2 separate regions of the Homo sapiens genome follow, and region 1 is linked to region 2. The links are contacts of gene promoters, found by promoter capture Hi-C in human tissues and cell types (Jung and others, 2019). All regions are on one chromosome and are shown on one strand. The core of a region is centred on a gene start or on the middle of the fragment in contact, and the rest is flanking DNA. Distances in the headings are between cores, read along the strand shown. Region 1 overlaps PDZK1 (PDZ domain containing 1). Region 2 holds the start of RNF115 (ring finger protein 115).

Region 1 (6,280 bases), core at 3,116-5,615, 120 kb after region 2:
TCAGGGTCTTTGAATTTCTGTGTTATGATAGTAACTTGTGCTTATCTTTGACTTTTGTATGTTCTCTGCACCATAGGGTGTGAAGTTGCTGGTAATGATGTCTTATATTCATAGACCACTGGCTAGGCAGCTACTTCTCCCCCAGGGGAAAGAACATAGGACTGGAATACAAATCATCAGAGTTTTGATTCAGTTGCTAGTGACAGGCCATTAGACAAACTACTTAGCCAACTGGAGCCTCAATTTCATTATTGATCAAGTGAAGGTCTGTCATCTTTTCCCCAAGAGTGTACTGAAAATAAAATTATAAGTACAAATGTGTGGTCCTGCATGGTGGCTCATGCCTGTAATCCCAGCACTTTGGGATGCCCAAGCGGGAGGATCACTTGAGGCCAGGAGTTCGAGACCAGCCTGGGCAATGAAGTGAGACCCCCGTCTCTACAAAAAATAATAATAAATTAATCCTGCATGGTGGCATGTGTCTGTGGTGTCAGCTACTTGGGAGGCTGAAATGGAAGGGTTGCTTGAGCCCAGGGGGTCGAGGCTACAGTGAGCCGTGATTGCATCACTGCACTCCAGCCTGGGTGACAGACTGAGATCCTGTCTAAAAAACAAAAAACCATGAATATGTTAAAAACACGATGTAAGATGCCTAGATTTCAAATGTGTATATCGAAAGTCTCTGTAGAATAGTAAGAAGAAACAAATTGCAGTCACTTGGGAAACCTTGTCCTAGTCTTTTAATCTCATTGAGCCTCTGTTTGCTCACTTACAAATAAGAAGTTGAGACCAGATCATCATTAATGTCTTTTTCAGTTGGCCAAGTATAAGGTAGATCCTGGAGCCTTGAAGGGTAGCTCCTTGTCATTGGGGTATGAATTAAAATGTCACCTCCCAGGAAGGACTTTCTAAATCAGCCTCCCACCTCCATGCCACCAGTATCTCTATCATTCACAGCGTGTACCATCAGAAATCATCTCATTTGGGCTGGGTGCAGTGGCTCACATCTGTAATCCCAGCACTTTGGGAGGCTGAGGCAGGTGGATCACCTGAGGTCAGGAGTTCAAGACCAGCTTGGCCAACATGGTGAAACCCCATCTCTACTAAAAATACAAAAATTAGCCGGGCGTGGTACTGCCTGTCTGTAGTATTAGCTACTTGGGAGGCTGAGGCAGGAGAATTGCTTGAACCTGGGAGGTGGAGGTTGCAGTGAGCCAAGATTGTGCCATTGCACCCTAGCCTGGGTGACAAAGTGAGACTCCATCTCGAGAAAAAAAAAATCATCTCTTTTACTTGTCACCTTTGCCAGATGTTAAGCTTCAAGACTGCAGGGATCTTGTCATTTGTGTTACTTGCTGTATTACCAGCCCCTTGAGCACTACCTGGCATAGAACATATTTGCATAAATGGAATTAGTGTGGCAGGGAAGGAGCTAGAAGAATAGATGCAGATGGCGATGGCTTTGATGAGGTGTTCCTCAGGAAAGGAGGTTGAAGGACTCCAATCCTCTCTCAGGGCATCTGAAGTCCAGGGTCTAATCATATGGGAATGGGTTTCTCTGGTCACTTCTTAGTGAAATGATTCTTGCATTCGTTGCATAGGGATGCAATGAGAGTGGCAAGCTGGAGCTAGACGTGTTTTCCTCAAGATCTCAGCAACTTCTTTCTTTGGTCCTTCATGAGGGACTGCCCAGATTTCCTTAATCTCTTTGCCTGATGGGTATCATGGCTAAGTGATTAAGAAAATGAGCACTGGGATTGGAAACCTGCACTCTAGATCAGGCTCTCTAAGCTTCTATTTCCTTGTCAGTCAAATGGGCATATTAGAACCTAGTTCCGGAAGTTATGAGGGTTAAATGAATGCACATAGTGTCTAGCACATCTTAAGTGCTATTGAGATAATCTTCAGACAGCTTTGCTATTACATGACCCCCGGAAATGAAGGAACCCAGGGAATGGCAGGAGTTTTGGAAAGTAGAAAAGATAGCCCTAGCCCACTTAGTGGCAACTAGAGAAGGTTTGCTTTTGGTCTGAGGTGGTCACTGGTTTCTGAGGTGCCAAGCCTGGTTGGAGGCACAGATAGTCAGCATTCATAAAGCTGCGTAGAACCATGGGGTCCCAATGGGGACATGAAACTAAATGATCCAGAAAAGCCCGTGGACTTTCCACCAGTTGTATTGAATACATACCTGATGGTGTGAGAATACAGAAAGGGGCTGTGGTGCCTGCTCTTAAGAAAGCTTATCTTGGCTGGGCATGATGGCTCACGCCTGTAATCCCAGCACTTTGGGAGGCTGAGGAGGGTGGATCACTTGAGGTCAGGAGTTTGAGACCAGCCTGGCCAACATAGTGAAACCCCATCTCTACTAAAAATACAAAAAGTAGCCGGGTGTGGTGGCGGGTGCCTTCAATCCCAGCTTCTCAGGAGGCTGAGGCAGAAGAATTGCTTGAATCCAAGTGGCAGAGGTTGCAGTGAGCCGAGATCGCACCACTGCACTCTAGCCTGGACCACAAGAGCAAGATTCCATCCCTCCTGGCCAAAAAAAAAAAGCTTATCTTGTTGGGGACACACGACATGGATCCTGAAGCTCCTCTATAGTCTACTGGACTGAGTCCAGTGCTCACAGTCTAACCTACTTCTTTTTTTCAACATATAACTGTGCTCTGATCTTTCTGAACCATTCACCATTCTGGGAATGCATCTCCTGCTGTTCCTTCTGCCTGGGATGACTTCCTCTTCCTAGTCTGACTACTTGTATTTCCAGAATACATTCTACACCTCAGGCCTGGGAGGCAGGGTAGATGGTGGAAGGAATCCAGACTCAACTGGGTTTGAATCCAGACTCTGCTTATCCAAATAGTCAGGGGAAACCAAGTTAACTTTTCAGAGTCTCTTTTCTTTTTCCTTGTAAAATGGCCCATCAGGATTGAATCAGAACCCATAAAAAGTACCTAGGCTGGTTCCTAATCCTAGTAGGGAGCTCAATAAATATATATAACAATAAGAAAGCTTTTGTATTTAAATATTCCAGCACCCACAACGTTGTTCAGCAGTTAAACTTCATAACTCTCCCCACTGGACTCCAGGCTCTTTCAGGGCAGGACGGTAGCTATTCTGGGTTGAGCCCTGATACCTGCCTCGCAGTAGGTATTACATAGAACTTGTTAAGTACATGAGCGATAACTGAAATTCAGAAGATGAAATGATACCTTCAGACTGTGGTGGTCATGGAAGGATTCGTATATAATCTAAAATTTGAACTGAGCCTTGAAAATGGTAGGTCTTAAATTCGTTCACTTGGAACAAATGTTTACTTAGCACGTACTATGAGTAAGTGCTCATGGGGCATGAGCAAAGGGCAGGCTCGTGTGGGTGACCATGCATAGACCAATTGGGGCTTGCTGAGGAGCTGGGGGCCTGAGGTAGGGCTGGATTATGCTGAGCCTCAGTGCCTGAGCAAGAAGCTTGAACTTCTTTTTTTTTGAGACGGAGTCTTGCTCTGTTGCCCAGGCTGGGGTGCAGTGGCACGATCTTGGCTCACTGCAAGCTCCGCCTCTTGGGTTCACACCATTCCCCTACCTCAGCCTCCCGAGTAGCTTGGACTACAGGCGTCCGCCACCACACCCAGCTAATTTTTTGTATTTTTAGTAGAGATGGGGTTTCACTGTGTTAGCCAGGATGGTCTCGATCTCCTGACCTCGTGATCCGCCTGCCTTGGCCTCCCAAAGTGCTGGGATTACAGGCGTGAGCCACTGCACCCGGCCGAGCTTCTTTTTCTTGAATTATTATTATTATTATTTTTGAGATGGTAGTATAATAAAACCAGGGTTAGAAAGTTTGTCTCGAGGCAAGACTCTTGTAGTAGTTTAAACATACCAAAAAAAAAGTGGGGGGGTAGAAATGCAAGTTCAAAAAGTCACAAAATGTCGATTTGGGGAAAGCACTTGTCTCAGCTGGCACTCAAGGCGGTTGAGCTGTCTATCAGCAGCATGAGGGTGTCCTCTCTCTGTGGGTGCCTCTGTTTCCACACAATATTGGCTCTATCCCTCTCCCAACTCATAGAACTCTTAGATAAGCAATCAAACTGTGAAAGGCCTTGAACTCCAGCCCAGAGTCTTGCCATATAGGACAAAGTATTGTTTATGGTGGCTGGAGGTAGGGAAGGTACTTAGTATCAGCAGGCCAAATGAACTTTGGGATAAGTAGATTCCATTCTTGATCATAAATGAGAAATAAAAACTACTCAGTGGGTCTGGGATCACTCTTCTCCAGATAATTCTCAATGGAATGGATTTCATTGATTTCTCATATTTGAAATTTATCCCTGGCTAAGACCAAACAGTAACTATCACAATGGGAAAGTACACTAGGCAAATACATATTTTAGAATCTTGCTTCTCCTTCTATTTTTGATATTAATTATTTAAAGTAAATATACTTGAGTATTTGAATTTCCATATGCTTTGCTTTTCAGAGGAGAAATCCAGGCAGCCTTAAATATGATCTGCATAAAAATATAGGATCTGTTCTAGGTAAAATATATTTGAAGAAGGGTGAAATTGAGTTGTCTTTATCTCTTCCTTGCTAGAGACATCTGTCAGTAGCAGCTCAGATACAGCAGGATTTTTTTGCTTATGCTGTTGGAAGGAACAGCATGTGCCAAGGCTCTGTGGCAGGCTCTGAAGGAGGCCAGCCATGGCTGGTGTGAGGCATGAAGCCTTGGAGTCAGGGCTGATGCCTGTAGGGAATTCTCAGCCTGTCTATAGTTGCTGGCTTAATGTTGCACAGTCTCCACCAACTGTATTTTCCTAACAAAAGTCTAGTGGGTTTGTTTTCTTCTTTCTTGTTACACAGATGCACACAAGTGCTGCAAGAACAGCATTCCTCAAAGTGCACACTGTGGTCAAGCGTCCTGAGAATGTGGCTTTTTTCTTGCTAAAGTTCAGAGTGTTTTATAGGCAAGCATGGAGTTCAGTGGAAAGCAAGTAATGTCTAGGTTTAATGTTGCCGGAGAGACCCTGCCCTTTCTTTTCCTTATGCCTCAACAAAACAGAAGTAACTTACTCTATGGTTTCATACTAGATTATACAATCAGATACCCTTCCACAGTCAGAGTAACTAGGGTTAAACATTCCTCACCAGCAGTCCTGCTAAGTGTTTGTTTTTTTTTTGAGATGGAGTCTCGCTCTGTTGCCCAGGTTGGAGTGCAGTGGTACTATCTTGGCTCACTGCAACCTCCACCTCCTGGGTTCAAGCAATTCTCCTGTCTCAGCCTCCCGAGTAGCTGGGACTACAGGCGTGTGCCACCACACCCAGCTGATTTTTGTATTTTTAGTAGAGACGGGGTTTCACCATATTGGTCAGGCTGGTCTCAAACTGCTGACCTCAGGTGATCCTCCTGTCTCAGCCTCCCAAACTGCTGGGATTACAGGCATGAGCCCCCGCGCCCAGCCCCTGCTAAGTTTTTAGTGTTTAGTGTTTTCATGGATTGAGTGTTGGTTATGTAAGTGCCTTGTGGGGAGAGGCTCTGTTGTCTTCGTGGTGTGATACTGACGGCATAATTGATTCCTAGTTACTATTAGATAAGGTGATGGTGGGTTCAGGTGTAGATGACTATATTTATGGAATAATCCTGCCACTTCTAAGTCCCAGACCTTGGAAGATGAGCAGAGATGACAGTACCTGGGCTGTTTCTTTCCTGATGGTATTTCATTGCATCTGGCCATCGCTGGTGACAGCCCCCTTCTGTCTTTCTCCCTCCAAGCAGAATGCTGTTTATCCCATGCCCTCTCTCTGATCTTTTGGCATTTCAGTGATGCTGTCTGGTGAGTGAGCCTATTCACTAGCTACTCCTTGGCTATGAAGGTCCCTCTCTGGGCCAGGTATCTATAGCTAAGGTAATGCTTCACTCACTCCATCTTCTCCACTGCTGTCTGTTCCTTGGGTCCCTATGTTCACTTCTGTTAGAGCTTATCCACTCCAGGCGGTGGAACTCTCTGGCCAGCTTAGTCTTGAAATTCTGTTAAAGCTCCCTGGACTCTTTTACCTCCTTGATACACAGCATTTGGTTCTATTTTGTAATTCCCTGGCTTTTAGACTTACAGGATACTTTTGAGTCCAGAGTTTATTATTTGAGCTTTCTTTCATGGGGAACAAAATCTCCAGCCCTGACTTTTCAGCAGCTAAAATTAGCTTCGCAGAAGTGATCTGGACTGAGTAGATAGAGAATCCCTTGCCTGATCATTGAGGTGCCTGCCCATTCTTAGTCTGTAATTTCTTC
Region 2 (5,464 bases), core at 664-3,163:
CTGGGGTGAGAAGAACAATATTCAAAGGTGGGTGAAATAAATTAGTGAAAGAAATGAGAGAAAATGAATGTCATTTAGACATACCTGATCCAGTGATGTTCCTGTGTCATGGGCAATTACTCTTAGTGGCTGGCTGCCGGTTCTTATCAGATGGACTCCAATTTTTTCTACAATCTCTCCAAAATGCTCTTGCAGCAACAAAGAACAGAGCTTAATTTCTGCTTGAGTCATTGTACTGGGGAGTCTGAGAGCTAGGGAAAAAACACCAAAATGGTACAATAGAAAGTCTTTCACGCTGGAAGCAGAGCTGCTGAGTGTAAATTCATGTATTCTTTCTGGAGGGCAATTTGACAATACATATCAAAAAGCCTTAAAAATCTTGCATATCTTTGAAACAACAATTTCTTTTTGGATATTGTGTCCAAAGAAAGAAAAAGCTAATAATAATGAAGTCATTAGTTCTCTTTATAATACCGACTTAGTGGAAACAATCTAACGTCTAACAATAAATGATGCCATACCCATACAATGGCATACTACACCAACATTTAAAGTTATTTAGTACGATGCGTATTCATGTAGAAAATTATTCATAATAGGCTGGCGCGGTGGCTCAGGCCTGTAATCCTAGCACTTTGGGAGACCGAGGTGGGCGTATCATGAGGTCAGGAGTTTGAGACCAGCCTGGCCAATATAGTGAAACCCCTTCTCTACTAAAAACACACAAAAAAATTAGCTGGGCGTGGTGGCGGGTGCCTGTAATCCCAGCTACTAGGGAGGCTGAGACAGGAGAATCGCTTGAAGCCGGGAGGCAGAGGTTGCAGTGAGCCGAGATCGCGCCACTGCACTCCAACCCGGGCGACAGTGCGAGATTCTGTCTCCAAAACAAAAAAAAACAAAAAAAATTACTCATAATATATTAAGTGACAGAAGCAAGCTGAAAAAATATAAAAATTCAATTATTGTAAAAAAAAAGGAAAAATGTATGCATAGGAAAAGACTATGCATCAAATTTATCTCTATGGGATTATGCGTGATTCTGATTTTCCTTAAAGATTGGGAGATGATTTTGCGGTCTGTCACAGACCTTAGTTTCTACACTTCACTGCTTGGAAGAATTAAGGTCACTGTTCACAGCTCGGTGGGAGTGAACAGGCAGTGTTATTCTCAGTCCATAAAGGAAATGATAATTTCGAAAAAGAAATTTAGGAGGTAAAGGACTGCTTCTCAACAGGGTGTGTCAAACAGGAGATGAGGTTACGTTGTTTGCAGGACAGTATTCAATTCTTAAACTTCTACTCCTTGACAAAGTTGACACAATCAGAAACGGACGTAGTTAATTTTATGATTACTTCCTTATTACAAATTGCTACCAAACATTGTTTACTTATTTCTTCCAATTCCTAAGAAGCCAAGTCTTTGCCTCCCCGTCCCCACCCCGCCTCAGTATCACCAGAGACCTATTTCGTCCATCCACATATCTTTGGAGAAGCATTCCCAGATCCTTTGCCATCCTCGGAAAGGGCTTCCAAGGCGCTTGGCTCCTAGCTCTACACTTCCTTTACACAGGTTCCCGTTTCGGACGTGGTCTCTTGGTCCAGTCAGTGCCGCCACGTTCAGACAGCATTTTCCACTAACCTCAGGGTCAGCGCAATCCGGGGGCTCCAACTCCAATTCGGCTGAGCTTCCCGCGACGGCTTCCTACGGCTCCCGCTGGCCTTCTAGGCCGAGGTGGAGCCCACCGCCCTTTCTAGGACGCGGATCGCCACCGAAGAAGACGCGGAAAAGCAAAAAGCGCGTGCCACTCTACCCCAGAGTTTCGGCGGCTTCCGGGGACGCTCTTTCTTTCTTCTCGCTGGAAGACTGGAGGACCAGCGAGGGGCTGTTTGTGGAGCCGGCGGGCGGGCCGTTTGTCTCTCCTTCCTGCGCCTCTTTGGTGCTGGGAGGCGGGCCGCAGGGTAGCTGTTGGCGCCGCCGCGTTTCTGGGCCTGGCCAACTCACGTGACCGACGCGGGCTCTGAAGCGGTGGGCCGCACCGAGGCGGCGGCGGCGGCGACGACTGCAGCTCGGGAGGTAGCGGCCTGGCGAGGGACGGGCCGGCTGCCCTCTCGGACGGCCGCGGCGGAGGGCAAAAATGGCGGAGGCTTCGGCGGCCGGGGCGGACTCGGGCGCCGCTGTAGCCGCCCACCGGTTTTTCTGCCACTTTTGCAAGGGCGAGGTCAGCCCCAAACTACCGGTAAGAGCGCTGTGTTCTCTATACTTGGGAACCTCATAGATTCCTGGCCCCGATTTCCCGGAACTGGGTCTGGAGCTTTCTGCACATCATTGACTCGCCCGACATCGGTCTGCCGAATACCTGCTGCCCACTTCTAAGCCGCCGGCCCTAAACCCTGGGCATCACGGCCTCGGCCCCGTACCTCCTGCCCACCTCTTAATTCATCCTGGGCTGCTCCACCTGACCTCACCTCTTTACCTCCCGTGTCCTTAATTTTTTTTTTTCTTAGCAAGTTTCCCTCTGATAACTCTCCCCTCAATTTTCTTGCATTCTTTTATACCTGGTCTTTTTCCTACGATGACCTCCCCCCACACTTCTTCCACTGTGTCTTCTCACCTTCCTCTGTGTTCTTTTCCACTTTTCACCCCCCACCGCCCCCGCCACCTCCCTTGTCAGTGAAGCGAAATAGCGGATTGCTGAGGATTGTCACTCTTCGGTTTTTTCTAGGGAAGGAAGCACAGAAAGGGGGTTGGAAGGTATCTGTGGGGCGAAAAGGGGGATTTTGCTCTTCAGTGGTTTCCAGGGTCCTTGTGACAGTGAAGACAGCAGCGTACTAATGACTTGCAGACGGTCTGCACTCCTATCACTGTTGAAGGAAATGGCTTTAGGAAGAAGGCAGGACGTACTGTTTCAACTTCGTTTATTTTGGTTGTCATGCTGCCAGTGTCTTTAATATCATTGTTCCGCCCCCCGCCCTGTCCCTTTCTTCACCTAAGAAAAAGAGCCGGGACAGAATGTTGGGGATGCTTCCTCTGACGTGAAATTGGTTTTCACGAGTTTCTGCCAGAGTGTTAGCCCCTTGAGAGGCAGTGCTGTGGTTGGGAAGAAAACACTTTTGTAGGTCAGGCGCGGTGGCTTAGGTCTGTAATCCCAGTGCTTTGGGAGGACGAGGCAGGAGGATTGCTTGAGGCCAGGAGTTTGAGACCAGCCTGGGCAACAGAGTGAGACCCCTCTCTACAAAAACAAACAACATTTATGCAGCATACTAGCCAGCACCAGCATCACAAACCCAGAAACTGTTTTGGGTTGGGTTGTAGCTACTACGAGGAGCTCCCCCAGAGTGAATGTCAATCCTGTCCTTGGCCAACTGTCTTTATGGTTGTTCCTTTCCTTACAAGTGTCCAGGTTCAGTCTTGTGATAGAGTGGCAACATAATGTATGTTTCTATTTATGGTGTCTCAGATACAGTGTAGGAGAAAACCTTCTGAAGTGAGTCTGTATATCTTATTTCTTAGAAACACAAATGGAGTCCAGTGAATAAGTGCTTAAAGGGTGTTTTATAGTCTTCTCTCACTCAAAAGTTTTGTTTAAGGCATTATGATACATTCTTTCCTCTCTACTTGCCGCACCCCCTACTTCAGAGTCATAGTTTCATCTAAATGCTACTTAGCTGTTTTTCTTTTTTCTTTTTTTTTTTTTGAGACAGCCTCTGTCTATCACCCAGGAGCATGATTTCGGCTGACTGCAACCTCCACCTGCCGGGTTCAAGAGAGTCTCCTGCCTCGGCCTCCGGGTAGCTGGGACTATAGGTGCACGACCACCGCACCCTGGCTAATTTTTGTGTTTTTAGTAGAGATGCAGTTTCACCATGTTGGCCAGGCTGGTCTCGAACTCTTGACCTCAAGTGATCCACCCGACTCGGGCTCCCAGAGTGCTGGGATTACAGGCGTGAGCCACTGCTCCCCGCCTAAATGCTACTTAGCTTTGTTTGCTGATTTTGCTGTGTGTTTATGTTTTTTTTTTTGGCCATATTTCAGTGCTGGGAAGAGCAGGTGTCTAGTTTTTTTCCAGCCAACATCAGAGCCTGCAGAACTCTTCTACCATAGAGAGGGAGTCTGGAATTCAGCCAGTATGTGTGTGACCAGTGGTGTGTTGTTGAATGTGATGCCTTGTTGAATATTCCATCCTTAGCTTTTTTGATCTTTAAGTTGCTGTTCACTATTTTGCCTTTAAGAGTGAGAAGTTGGCCAGGCGTGGTGGCTCAGGCCTGTAATCCCAATACTTTGGGAGTCCAAGGCAGGCAGATCGCTTGAGCTCAGGAGTTCGAGACTAGCCTGGGCAACATGGAGAAACCCCGTCTCTACCAAAAAATAAAAAAATTTGCCGTGTGTGTGGTGGCATGCACCTGTAGTCCCAGCTATTCAGGAGGCTGAGGTAGGAGGATTGCCTGACCCCAGGAAGCAGAGGTTGCAGTGAGCTGAGATCGCACCATTGCACTCCAGCCTGGGCAATAGAGCCAGACCCTGTCTCAAAAAAAAAAAAAAAAAAAAAAAAAGAGTGAGAAGACAGTCTAAACTTCCCCAATTGATTATATCTTTTCTTCTCACCTTTAAGTCCTTACTTCAAAGGGATAATTTGAAAAGCTGAATAGGTGTTTTTCTAAGCCTTAGTTAATGCCTGGAGAAGTTTCTTGATCTTTTTGGTGTGATATATTATTTGTCATATCTGATTTGTAAATTGAGGCCTAACACAATTGAGTATAACCGGATTCTTCCTAAATATATCCAAGGTTCTCTGCTGAGTGTCCTGGAGGTGATAGGGAGTGATATGTGGCTCCTGCCCTTAAGGATCTTACAGCTTTTGGGGAAAGACAAGGCAAACATAGAAAAAGTAACAGCATAAAGGGAATGAGGATATGTGCTTTAGGATTCAGAGAGGGGAATTTCATAGCATTGGTGTGGCCAGTGGGATTTAAATTGAGTTTTGAGGGATGGGTACATTTCAGATTGAGAATTCCAAAGACTGTGAGGTAGCAAAAGGAAGAGGGAGTTGATGAAGAAGGGAGAAATATTTAATAAATCATGTTTTTTTCACAACTAAAAGTTGTATACTATATTTTTTATAGTGTTCAGCATGATTTGATATATGTATACACTGAATGGTTAAATCAAGCTATTTAACATGCATTACCTCACATACTTATTTTTGCGTGGTGAGAACACTTAAAATCTGTCTTAGCAATTTTCAAATATACAGTATATTCCCTTTTTCTTTTTTTGAGACTGAGTCTCGCTCTGTCACCAGGCTGGAGTGCAGTGGTGCGATCTCGGTTCACTACAACCTCCACCTCCTGGGTTCAAGCAGTTCTCCTGCCTCGGCCTCCCAAGTAGTGGGGACTACAGGCACGTGCCACCATGCCCAGCTAATTTTTGTATTTTTAGTAGAGACGGGGTTTCACCATGTTGGCCA

The links. Contacts are between HindIII fragments. The study calls those that stand out against the background at their distance.
Region 1: a contact is called between a fragment that was not itself captured here and the fragment with the promoter of RNF115 in region 2, in 3 of the 25 tissues and cell types used here (IMR-90 fibroblasts, mesendoderm cells and thymus).

The regions. Positions count from the first base shown.
Region 1 is chr1:145,700,096-145,706,375 of GRCh38, reverse strand. All of the region lies in intron 1 of PDZK1 (PDZ domain containing 1), which reads left to right. Among named protein-coding and RNA genes, the nearest start is that of PDZK1, 4.1 kb to the left of the region's middle. The HindIII fragment of the contact is 5,621 bases long and covers 1,555-6,280 here.
Region 2 is chr1:145,820,544-145,826,007 of GRCh38, reverse strand. RNF115 (ring finger protein 115) reads left to right here and starts at 1,913. Exons shown (of 9, transcript NM_014455.4): 1 at 1,913-2,236. The coding sequence starts at 2,135. POLR3C (RNA polymerase III subunit C) reads right to left here and starts at 1,808. Exons shown (of 15, transcript NM_006468.8): 1 at 1,639-1,808; 2 at 85-251. The coding sequence starts at 231. RefSeq lists an enhancer at 1,548-1,947. The HindIII fragment of the contact is 19,576 bases long and covers 1-5,464 here.